Regions from separate parts of the Homo sapiens genome. Here region 1 is linked to region 2. Evidence: promoter capture Hi-C in 16 types of primary human blood cells and fetal thymus (Javierre and others, 2016). All regions are on one chromosome and are shown on one strand. The core of a region is centred on a gene start or on the middle of the fragment in contact, and the rest is flanking DNA. Distances in the headings are between cores, read along the strand shown. Region 1 overlaps WDR62 (WD repeat domain 62). Region 2 holds the start of APLP1 (amyloid beta precursor like protein 1).

What was found. The method cuts DNA at HindIII sites, captures the fragments that hold promoters and counts their contacts. A CHiCAGO score of 5 or more calls a contact.
Region 1: a fragment that was not itself captured here is called in contact with the fragment with the promoter of APLP1 in region 2 in 1 of 17 cell types (naive CD8 T cells); the score reaches 5.2 in naive CD8 T cells.

Annotation. Positions count from the first base shown.
Region 1 is chr19:36,105,048-36,110,580 of GRCh38, reverse strand. WDR62 (WD repeat domain 62) reads right to left here. Exons shown (of 32, transcript NM_001083961.2): 32 at 5,473-5,533. Among named protein-coding and RNA genes, the nearest start is that of OVOL3, 3.3 kb to the left of the region's middle. The HindIII fragment of the contact is 223 bases long and covers 3,375-3,597 here.
Region 2 is chr19:35,864,196-35,869,855 of GRCh38, reverse strand. It overlaps APLP1 (amyloid beta precursor like protein 1), which reads right to left and starts at 1,282. Exons shown (of 17, transcript NM_001024807.3): 1 at 1,073-1,282; 2 at 46-189. The coding sequence starts at 1,219. It overlaps LOC107985317 (a long non-coding RNA gene), which reads left to right and starts at 499. Exons shown (of 4, transcript XR_001753932.2): 1 at 499-764; 2 at 1,726-1,981; 3 at 3,263-3,369. KIRREL2 (kirre like nephrin family adhesion molecule 2) reads right to left here. Exons shown (of 15, transcript NM_199180.4): 14 at 5,143-5,208; 15 at 2,720-3,699. The coding sequence ends at 3,364. RefSeq lists silencers at 1,042-1,111, 1,202-1,461. The HindIII fragment of the contact is 13,044 bases long and covers 1-5,660 here.

The DNA of each region.
Region 1 (5,533 bases), core at 2,237-4,736, 240 kb before region 2:
TACTAGTTTGTTAATAATCTAGCCCCTAGTTACTGCCTGGGACAACACTCTTCCTCCCTCCCACAGTCTGGAAAGTAAAAGGGGGTCTCCTATTTTTTTTTCTTTTTTTGAGACGGAGTTTCACTCTTGTTGCCCAGGCTGGAGTGCAGTGGCACCATCTTGGCTCACTGGAACCTCCACCTCCCGGGTTCAAACGATTCTCCTGCCTCAGCCTCCTGAGTAGCTGGGACTACAGGCATGCACCACCACACCGGGCTAATTTTTGTATTTTTGGTAGAGACAGAGTTTCACCATGTTGGCCAGGCTAGTCTTGAACTCCTGACGTCAAGTGATCCGCCTGCCTTGGCCTCCCAAAGTGCTGGGATTACAGGCATGAGCCACCGCACCTGGCCCAAAGGGGGTCTCTTGACACAGCCAGGGGCTCCCAGGACCCTACCCCGGCACACTGGCCAAGCTGTTTTACACTTGATTCTTAGCCAGAAGACTAAGAAGCAATCCAAGCTCTGTTTTTTAATTTTTTTTTTTTGAGGCGGAGTTTTGCTCGTTGCCCAGGCTGGAGTGCAATGGCGTGATCTTGGCTCCTCTATGACCTCCGCCTCCTGGGTTCAAGTGAGTCTCCTGCCTCAGCCTTCCAAGTAGCTGGGATTACAGGGGCACACCACTGCACCCAGCTGATTTTTTGTGTTTTTTGTAGAGATGGGGTTTCACCATGTTGGCCAGGCTGGTCTCAAACTCCTAAATGCAGGTGATCCGCCCGGCTCAGCCTCCCAAAGTGCTGGGATTACAGGCGTGAGCCACCGCGCCCAACCTGTTTTTATTTTTTTTGTTTTGTTTTGTTTTGTTTTTTGAGACAGATTCTCACTCTGTTGCCCAGGCTGGAGTGCAGTGGTACGATCTCCACACACTGCAGCCTCCGTCTCCTGGGTTCAAGCGATTCTGCTGCCTCAGTCCCCCAAGTAGCTGGGACTACAGGTGCGCACCACCACACCCGGCTAATTTTTGTATTTTTAGTAGAGATAGGGTTTCACCATGTTGGGCAGGCTGGTCTCAAACTCCTGACCTCGAGTGATCCACCTGCCTCAACCTCCCAAAGTGCTGGGATTACAGGCGTGAGCCATTGCGCCTGGCAACTAAACAATTTTCTAAGCTCCAGACCTAGCTTACTGAAAATGATCGCGTAAGTCCATGAAGGAGGCACACCAGTGACAGCCCAGAATGACCAAGACAGTGAGAGGCAAGTGAGGCAGAGACCCAGCCATGATGGGGAAAAGAGGGGTACCTGGGGACCCGAACAGGCTCCTGATCCAGGCTACGGGTACAGGGATGGCTTCCTGGATAAGCGCTGAAAGGTTTCAGATGAAAGGGGAGGGTGTTCTAGTCAGAGGGGGACATCTGTACAAGGCTTGCTGGTGAGAGGAGTATTTCTTCATTTCTTTACATTGCCCGAGAGTCAGTTGTGCCAATTCATTTGGGGAAGCAAGGGTGGCAGTGCTGAGGGTCTGCTGGCCATGCATTTCCGCTTGCTCTCTGCAGGACCCAGAGCAAGTCATTTCTCATTGGGCCTCGGTTTCTTCACCTGGAAAATGAGACTAAGGAATCTCCCTCTTCCCAGTTTGTATTGAAGATCCATGTAGCTCACATGGAGAGAATGCTTAGCATGGGGCCTGGCATGTGGCAGACATATAAGCAGGGATTGGTTAGGAAGGTTTTTTTTTTTTTTTTTTTTTGAGACAGGGCCTTGCTTTGTCACCTAGGCTGGAGTGCAGTGGAGTGAACACAGCTCACTGTAGCCTCAAGCTCCTGGGCTCAAGTGATCCTCCCACATCAACCTCCCAAGTAGCTGGGACTACAGGCGTGCACCACCACACCTAGCTAATTTTAAAATTTTTTGTAGAGGTGGAGTCTTGCTATGTTGCCTAGGGCTGGTTTTGAACTCCTGAGCTCAAACCGTCTGCCTGCCTTGGCCTCCCAAAGTGTTGGGATTACAGGAATGAGCCACTGCATCCTGCCGAGGAATCCCTCCTCTGGGCAAACATCCAGGCCTCAGGTGGGTCATCTGCAAAATGGGGTTTCAGGTGGTGTCTCCATTTTGCAATTGTTGGCTTTCCTGCAGCCCTGACTGGGATGCCTGGCACGGGCCTGGCAGCTCAGGACCCAGGAGCTGTCCTGATGGTACTGCTATGGGGAGGCCAAGGGTAGATGTGGGGGTAGAAGCAGGGGGGGAGTTGCAGTGAAAGATGAACTGTTTTCCTTCCAGGGACCCAGTTCCCCAGGAACCCTCTCAGTCCTGTTCTGCCCTGCTCCATGGCCTAGGAGGTTGACTGGAGGCGGGGTCACCTGGGCTTCTATGCACTCTGGCTTCCAGTAGGATTTGGACAATGGGGTGCCCTGCAGGAGGGGAGTAAGGTCAGGGTGTTGATTCTCACTCCGTCCTGTGTGGGAGTCAGGGCTGCAGCTCCCTCAGCACTACCCTCTCCCTGGGATTTGCTCTTTTGGGTTCTTGTTCCTTCTCTTTGTGCCTTGTGGCCTGGGGGTGGTAACAGCTCCCAGGGTGCCAGTCCTGGGGTTCTGCACCAGCCTCGGTGGTTTCCCAGTCCCTGCTGCTCCTTTGCAAATGATCCCTTGGTTAAACTCTTTGGAATATCCCATCTAAGCATGCTGTCATCTTTCTGCTGGGACCCTGTCAGCTCACAAACCACATGCACACATGCTGCACCACCAGCAGTGGCTTCTTAACCAGGTGGTTTATCCTGGTTAAGAAGTATGGAGAAAGTATGGTCCTTCCAGGACAGAGCCTGGCATTTGGAAGAGGGAAGTGGCAGACATGCTGGATCCTCTCTGATTACCAGCCCACTTGCCTTTCTTATTGAGAGAACCTCTTTGTTTGAGCTGCAACATGCCCAGGACAGGAGAGATGGTCCAAGCACATCAAAGCAATCTCCATTCCTGTTGCCTGGGACTCATCTGACCCCAGATGAGTCTCCCAGGGAGACCCCTGGGAGAGATCTGCATCTTTTCTGCTGCCCTAGAGGGTGCCCTGCTCTGTGCCTTTGCTCCTGGTTGGACCAGGCCACCCAGCAGCTGGGACCAATAACTTGGGCCTCTGACCCTCATGTCATTGTGCACCTGGCCTCTTCCTCTCCTGCTGTCACCCTCTGTGAGCCCCCTGCACTCCACATCTAACCTCAGCCTCCCCATAGCAGTACTATCGGGGCAGCTTCTAGCTCCTGCGCTTCCAGGCTTATGCCAGGCACTTCAGTCAGGGCTGCAGGAAAGCCAACAATTGCAAAATGGAGACACCACCTGAGGGTGTGCTGCTGGGTGCCACAGCAGCCGTGTTGCAACCATGAGGCCATAAGCTGGAGACTGAAGCTTGCTCACAGAGGATAACAGAGCAGGAGAGGAAGAGGCCAGGTGCATGATGACATCAAGGGTAACCAACGTCCCTCCATCTTGGGCCCTGAAAGCCAGGTGTTTACTCCTTGGAGCAGAAGACTTTACTATGATACAGGTTGGAAGGAAGGGTAATTCCATGCATGACAGAGGCCCAAGGTGGTCTCCTGGGTGTCCGAGGCCTGGGGGGCTGAACACCAAGCTTTGCCCAGGGATGTTGGGCAAGGTTTTGGGCAATGGTGGCCGAACTAGGCAGATGGGCCTAGGCCTAGGCAGGTGGTTCAAGTTCTGGACCACCTGGACTCCCTGAGGCAGAGTCGTGAGAAATAAGCAACACTGGATATCCCCCAAACATTAAGAGCAGAGATTTAGAAACAAACCCAAAAACAAAAAACTGTTCTGGATATTCCTTGGACTTAAATGTTATGAAGCAACAAGGCCCTGCTCCTCCTTGCACCTCAGCTCCTGCCCTCCCCTTGCTCACTCCATTCCAGCCGTCCGGGCTTCGCTCCTCTTGCTTCCACACAGATCACGTGTGGCTGCCCCAGGCCTGTGCACTGGCTGTGCTGTCGGCCTGGATGTGTTCCTGAGATGTCCTCTATCAAGCTTCAGCCCAAATGTCACCTCGAAAGGCCTTCCCTGACCCTTCACCAGCAATGGATCTCCCCAACCTATCTAGAATTATACAGAGCTCTAATTCCTGCATCTGTTTGACTGTATAGAAGGTGAGTGGCCATGAGGGCAGGTGCGTTGCCTGATGTTCCTTCTGCTACAGTGCCCGGCACCTGGGTGGGAACTGGCAGGATTTTTTTTTTTTTTTTTTTTGAGACTTGCTGTGTCACCCAGGCTGAAGTACAATGATGGTGTGATCTCAGCTCACTGAAACCTCTGCCTCCTGGGTTTGAGCGATTCTCCTGCCTCAACCTCCTGAGTAGCTGGGACTACAGGTGTGCACCACCACACCCCAGCCAAGAGTGGCTTTTTTAGCAGACACCCCATGTGGCCAGATGCCTGCTGTCTGGGGGAGCTGGTAGCAGTGCTGGGAGCTCGTGGAATGTAGAACTTCTGAAGGGGAAGCAGTTATTGGTCCCAGCTGCTCGTGGCCTGGGCCTGCTGCCAGGATCATACAGTGGGCAAGCCTGCCTGGGTTTCTTGTTTTATTTTGTTTTATTTAAAGAGACGGGGTTTTGGCCAGGTGCGGTGGCTCATGCCTGTAATCCCAGCACTTTGGGAGGCCGAGGTGGGCGGATCTCCCAAGGTCAGGAGTTTGAGACCAGCCTGGCCAACATGGCAAAACCCCGTCTCTACTAAAAATACAAAAATCAGCTGAGTATGGTGGTGGGTGCCTGTAATCCCAGCTACTCGGGAGGCTGAGGCAGGAGAATCGCTTGAACCCGGGAGGCGGAGGTTGCAGTGAGCCAAGATCGCACCACTGCACTCTAGCCTGGATGACACAGCAAGATTCCATCTCAAAAACAAAAATAAATAAATAAATACATGAAATAAAGAGATGGGGTTTCACCAAGTTGCCCAGGCTGGTCTCAAACTCCTGGCCTCAAGCGATCCTCCCACCTCAGCCTCCTGAGTAGCCGGGATTATAGGTGCAGGCCACCATACCCAGCTTGGGCAAGCCTGTTCATGGGTCCTCAGTTTCCCCTGTTGCAGATGGGGACACCACCACCGTGGACTTTGTGGGATCTAGTGTGGCCTTGGCCCAGAGGCCCTGAGCCATGATATGGCAAAGCGTGGACTGCTGGGCAAGGTAGGCACATGGTGATCACAGCAGCCCCAGTGAGTTCTCAGGCACTGGCAGGGGGCAGGTAAGAGGGTCTGGCTCCTCCCTGGGGCACAAATGGGCCCCACTGGGTAAGCACCTCACACTGGTCTGTGGCAGCTCTGTGGGCAGTGTGGGAGGACTGGCCCTGAGGTCATGGCTGCAGTTCCTGAACTTCTTGGGAGCGCTGGTCCCATGCTCTCCACTGACAGACACGAGTCCTCTGGGCATCACCTTCTACCCTCCCTCCCCACTTCCACTTGAAGAGGGCTTTGTGGATAGGCCCAAACAGACACCAGGAACCATTCCTCAAAGCTGTCAGTTTATTCGCTTAAAATACCTAAGTCCTCAGAAGCAGCAGGGCTG
Region 2 (5,660 bases), core at 33-2,532:
AGCTTTCTATGGGCGGCCCCGCCTCTCCCGTTCGGCCCCGCCCACCTGTCTGCAGTACTCCAGCACGCGCTGCGGGTCCCGGAGACAGCGTCGAGAGCGCTGTGGGTCTGGTTCCCAGCGGCCGGTGCGCAGGTCCCGGTGAAGGGTTAGGCGCCCGCATAGTCCAGCCACCTGGGCCGACCCCGGGGCCTGGATGGAAGTGGAAAGGACAGTGAGGGCTCGGGGGGCGTTGGCATGAGGGTCCCCTGGTTCTTTGCTCCCTAGGACCGAGACCCCCAGCACCAGCCCCCTCCCCCAAGCACCGCACACCGCCTCCATGGAGGCACCGTTCCCTGGGAAACAGCTCCCGTAGGGCGGGGGCGCCCCAGCGCTCCCGTTGCTATGGCGACCTGGGTCCCCCGGGATTCTTTCTGCCTTGTTGCCGCGGAGACAGACTCCGCCCCCACCCCAGCGCAGCCGCTCTGGAGCCCGAAGGGGTTAAACCTGAATCGCGGAGGAGGAGGCCAGAACCCAGGAGTTCTGGCCCCTCCTCCCTCCATCCCTTGCTCAGGCTCCCGTTGCAGGATGCAAAGCTGACAAGGCCTGGCTTCAGGGGCCTACAGTCCTGGACACCAGGTCCTTGAGGACTGGAGAGCTACATCTGGTTGGGGTGGGTGGTGACTGAAGGACTGGACTCCTGGGTCCTGGGAGGCTGCAAGGGCCTCCATATGGGTCCAGAGAATACAAGGGGTCTGGATTATTGGATCTAAATGCCTCGCTGCTTGGTGGGTCCTATGTCCAGGCGGGAGGGGGTTGGGGCCGAGTCACCTGGGTCTGGAGAGGGGGCTGGACTTCTGGGACCAGGGGCTCTGAATAGACCAGTTCCTATGCTCGAGATGGGAGGGGGCTGGGACGTCGCATGATGGGGGAGCTGGGGCCTGGAACCCTGGGTTCATAAATGTGATTGGGGGCGCCTGGGGGCTGACCACCTGGCTGGAAAGACCGCGCTTTCTGCCCTGGACATGTCCGCGCCGGCGTCCAGAGACCCGGTCCCGCCCCTTCCCCCATCCCCCAGGACCCGGCCCGGCCTCACCTCGGCCGCGCCGGGGCTCCCACCGGCCAGGCTCCCGATGGCGGGCTGCGCGCGCAGAAGCAGCAGCAATAGTGGCAGCAGCAGCGGCAGCGGCGGCTGGCCCGGGCGGCGACTTAGACCGCGAGCAGCGGGGCTGGCGGGCCCCATGTCCCGGCCCTTGCGCCCTCACGTCCCCTGCACTCCCGCCCGGCCCGGCCCCAGCGGTGACAGGAGCTCCCAGCGCCACCGCCGCCACCTCCTCCTCCCGCCGCCCCCGGGCTGCGCCGGCGCCGCCAGCCCCGCCCCGCGCCGGCCCCGCCTTCCTGGTCAGGACAATAGCGTGGCGGCTTCGCGCAGAGTGGAGCAGCTCGGGAACCCCGGGCGGGAGCCTGCGCCAGGCCCCCGCCCCTCGAGATTCCAGGCGTCCCGCCCCATGAAGGGCCCAGCCAGGAGTCCGGCTATGGGCTCCGCCCGTTGTGGATTTTGAGTCCTCCCGCAGGACTCTCACCCTCTTTAGACCCAGACACTCACAGTTTTGTCCTTTTCCAAGGATGCAAGCATCAGAGACCCCCATCCCCTAGTACATTCCTCTGTTGAGGGCTCAGGAATACAGGCCTCCAAAATGTCCCCAGTCAAGAAGGCAGCAGTTGAGACCTAGTCCCTTCCTCTTTCAGATCCAGAAGTCTGGGCACCTTCTCTCTCAGGACCAGAGACCAAGCCCCCAGCCCATTCTCCTTCAGACCCAGGAGTTCACTCTTCTTGCTCTGCTTCCCAAGGGTCCCAGGGGCCTGGACCTTTAACTCCTAGCTCAAGGATCCATGAACCAAAGCCCCCAGGACCTTTCTTTAAGGATCATCCAAGCAGGCACCAGCACCATGCCCACTGTGGATGCAGCACCTCAGGATTAGGGTCTGGATCTCCACGCTTGCTGTAAGGACCAGGGGATTGCCATTTTCCTACCCATAGTCTCCCCTTCCCTGCTCCACTTCAGGGCTCACTTGTTTGTCTCCTCTAATGAGAGTTAGAATTCAGTCTTCCCCAGGACCCCTGGGGCAGCCCTGTCACTTGTGTGCAACTGTGTGGACATCTATGCGTGTGTCTGTGCATACATGCCTATGTGTGTGTCTTTTCTGTTTGCAACTCATGTGTGTGTGTGCGTGTGTGTGTGTGTGTGTGTGTGTGTGAAGATGTATATTAAAAGAGCCCATGGCTGGGCACAGTGGCTCATGCCTGTAATCCCAGCACATTGGGAGGCCTAGGTGGGCGGATCACTTGAGGTCAGGAGTTTGAGACCAGCCTGGCCAACATGGTGAAACCCTGTCTACAAACAAATACAAAAATTAGCTGGGTGTGGTGGCATGCACCTGTAGTCCCAGCTACTTGGGAGGCTGAGGTGGAAGGATGGCTTGAGCCCAGGATGCAGAGGTAGCAGTGGGCTGAGATCATGCCACTGCACTCCAATGTGGGCCATAGAGCCAGATCTTGTCTCAAGAAAAAAAAAAAAAGAGCCTAGAGTGCTTTGCAGGTAGCAAGAGGCTGAGAGGTGGCTCACAGTTTTACTCCTACAGCCACCTCATAGGCTAGGGTAGAGGAGGGACCTTGGGACAGGTCTAAGGGACCCCTTCCTTGGTGGAGAGTGATAATGCCAGTAGACTCCCTAAGACACACTTGCCTCTTTGACTTTTTTTTATTATTAAACATAAATATTTTTATCCCAATATTTTGCCCCAACAGTGGTAATTCTCACTGTATCCCCACTCCTTGGGTCCAAGTCTTTCTGAGTCTTTAAGGAAAGTAAAATCAAGATGGTGGCCATCTTGGGTTCCTAGGGAGTATATGGCCATCTTGGCTGCATTTCCATTGGCCGAGCAAAGTTCCCCTCAGGGAGAGCCAGGGTGGGGCCTGGTATGCTCTTCATCTTCATCTATCCTATGCTACCTTTCCTCTCAATGCAGATGGTCATCTTGAAATATCTTCTTTCAGTGGCTAGAAACAACTTCCATCCCGGCCCCAAACTCCCAACACCCACTGCCCTGTCCCCATCTCTCCTCAAAGGGCCTACCTGCCATCTTGAATCTCTTTTACACCGGGGAATAGGTGGGCATATTGGGTGGCCATGTTGCTCCCACTTGGGGCATCTCCTTTGGCTGAGCTGACTGTATACAAATGCTCCTGACAAATGTAATGATCTTTCCCTCCCCTTGTGTTCAGTTTTGGAGGAGTAAGGTCGCCAACTTGTCCTGGCTCCTCAGAAATCAGAACAATCCATTATGGCAAGTTGGAGATCCCAGGACTCTTCCATTGGAAAGATGTCACACGTGAGTCTGGAGACGCGGGTGGCTAGGTGTGGGGAAGGCAGCATATGGGAAGGGGGGAGTCCCGGGGGCCAGATCTGGGGGCCCAAAGGATGTGGGTTTGATGTAGCTGGTGAAAGCTCGAGGGTGGGGTGTGGTGAGATAGCCTGCCCTGGCTCTGTAAAGTCTGCAGGGGGGGACCATGCCCAGGTGTGGGTTGAAGTCATAGAAGGTAGGGGTCCCTGGGGGCCCAAGGGGGGAGGGTGGTGGCAGGAAGAGACCTCCTCCAGGGGCTTCGCCAAGGCTCAGGCTCACACTGACTCCTCGGACCTTGTAGTAACCGTTGGTTGGGTCCTGAGGGGACAAATGGGACTCAGTAAAGTCTGTGAGCGTGCAGGGGGGATGAGGGTCACTGATGGAGAGACACACTGAAATAGACCAGACCTTGAGAGAGACAAAAAGAGACAGGAGTGGGCAGAGACACAGAGACACACATGGACTGGGAGAGAGAGAAAGTGAGACAGAGGAACAGTGATAAGAGGCAAATGGATAGGACATAGGCAGAGAAAGGTAGAGACGGAGGGATATAGGCCTGCTGAGGGGTGTCGGTGTGGAAGGTGCAGAGGGAACAGGAGAGAGACACTCACCTGCCCAACAGCCTCTAGGCTTTGATTCAGTGTCACACCCTGTGTTGCTGCTACAAGGCATGTCACTAGGATAGAACTGGACCCTGTCCTCACAGAATCCCACACCAAAGGAAAAATGACAGATCATGAGACAGTACCCAGAGGGGTCAGGGCTGTGCCTGGGAAAGGCATAGGCAATGACAGGGGCTGTGATGGTAGAGCCCTCAGCATAGTGGGTGGGATAAGGAAGCCCAGATCAGAGTGGTCATGGCTGTGATGGGTGGAACACAGGCAAAATGATCGAGCTGTCATGACGGAAGCATGGGCTTCCTAGAACAAGAAATGTCTGAGCTGAGACTGGAGGACTAAAGGAAGGAATTAGGTAGACATGGGAAGGAAGGTAGGAGTGTTTCAGGCCAAGAGAATGGCATGTCGGCTGGGCACAGTGGCTCACGCCTGTAATCCCAGCACTTTGGGAGGCTGGGGCGAGCGGATCACTTGAGGTCAGGAGTTCCAGATCAGCCTGGCCAACATGGTGAAACTCCATCTCTACTAAAAATACAAGAAAAATTAGCCAGCTATTAGGGAGCCTGAGGCAGGAGAATGGCTTGAACCCAGGAGGCAGAGGTTGCAGTGAGCTGAGATTGCACCACTGCACTCCAGCCTGGGCAACAGAATGAGACTCCGTCTCAAAAAAAAAAAAAAAAAAAAGAAGAGAGAGAATGGCATGTGCTAGGTACGCAGGAGAGAGAGAGAGAGAGAAGTGCTCTGGCCTGGGGATGGCCTGGAGTCAATGTGGCTGTCCTGAGGTAGGACCCCAGAGGAAGAACCAGTCTGGGGAGATGTGGGGCCAGTGTAGGACCTGGTGGCTGAAAGGGGGCTTGACCGTGATGAGGAGAGCACAGGCAGGGTGAGCCCTGGTCTGGGGCTCCAGATGGAGGCTAGGGCTGGGACAGATGTGTGGGAAGAGTCTGCAGACAGGCAAACTGAGGCTGGGAGCTGAGTGAGATGGCCCAGGGGGCAGGAGGAGTGGGGTGGGGAGCTGAGTCCCAACTCTGAGGACAACAGAAGGAAAAAGGAGGGGACAGGCGTGGGAGAGAGACGGAAACACAATGAAGGGAGCCCCGCCTCTCCCAACAGTGAAGGGAGCCCCACCCCTCTCAACACTCACCTTGGTCTCCAGAGTCCCTTCCTCCTCCAGAACCAGATCACTGTGGTCAGTGTGCACAATGGGGCCCTGGGGTAGGGAACTTAGTGAGAGGGAATAGTCAGAGGATCCCCCCGCCCCAATGCCAGACCCCAAGGACCTTCAGCCAGCCAGTGGAGGCCAGGCAGGAGGGAGTAAGAGCACCCAAGAGCTGGGGACTGCACTCAGGACAATAAAAGGGCTGTAAGAAGCCAGCACAGTGGCTCATGCATGTAATCCCAGCACTTTGGGAGGCCGCAGCAGGAGTATCACTTGAGGCCAGAAGTTTGAGACCAGCCTGGCTAACATGCCGAAACTCTGTCTCTACTAAAAATGCAAAAAATAGGCAGGCATGGTGGCAGGCACCTGTAATTTCAGCTACTCAGGAGGCTAAGGAACGAGAATCACTTGAACTGGGAGGTGGAGGGTGCAGTGAGTCTGGATTGCACCACTGCATTCCAGCTTGGACGACAGAGCAAGACTCTATCTCAAAAACAACAACA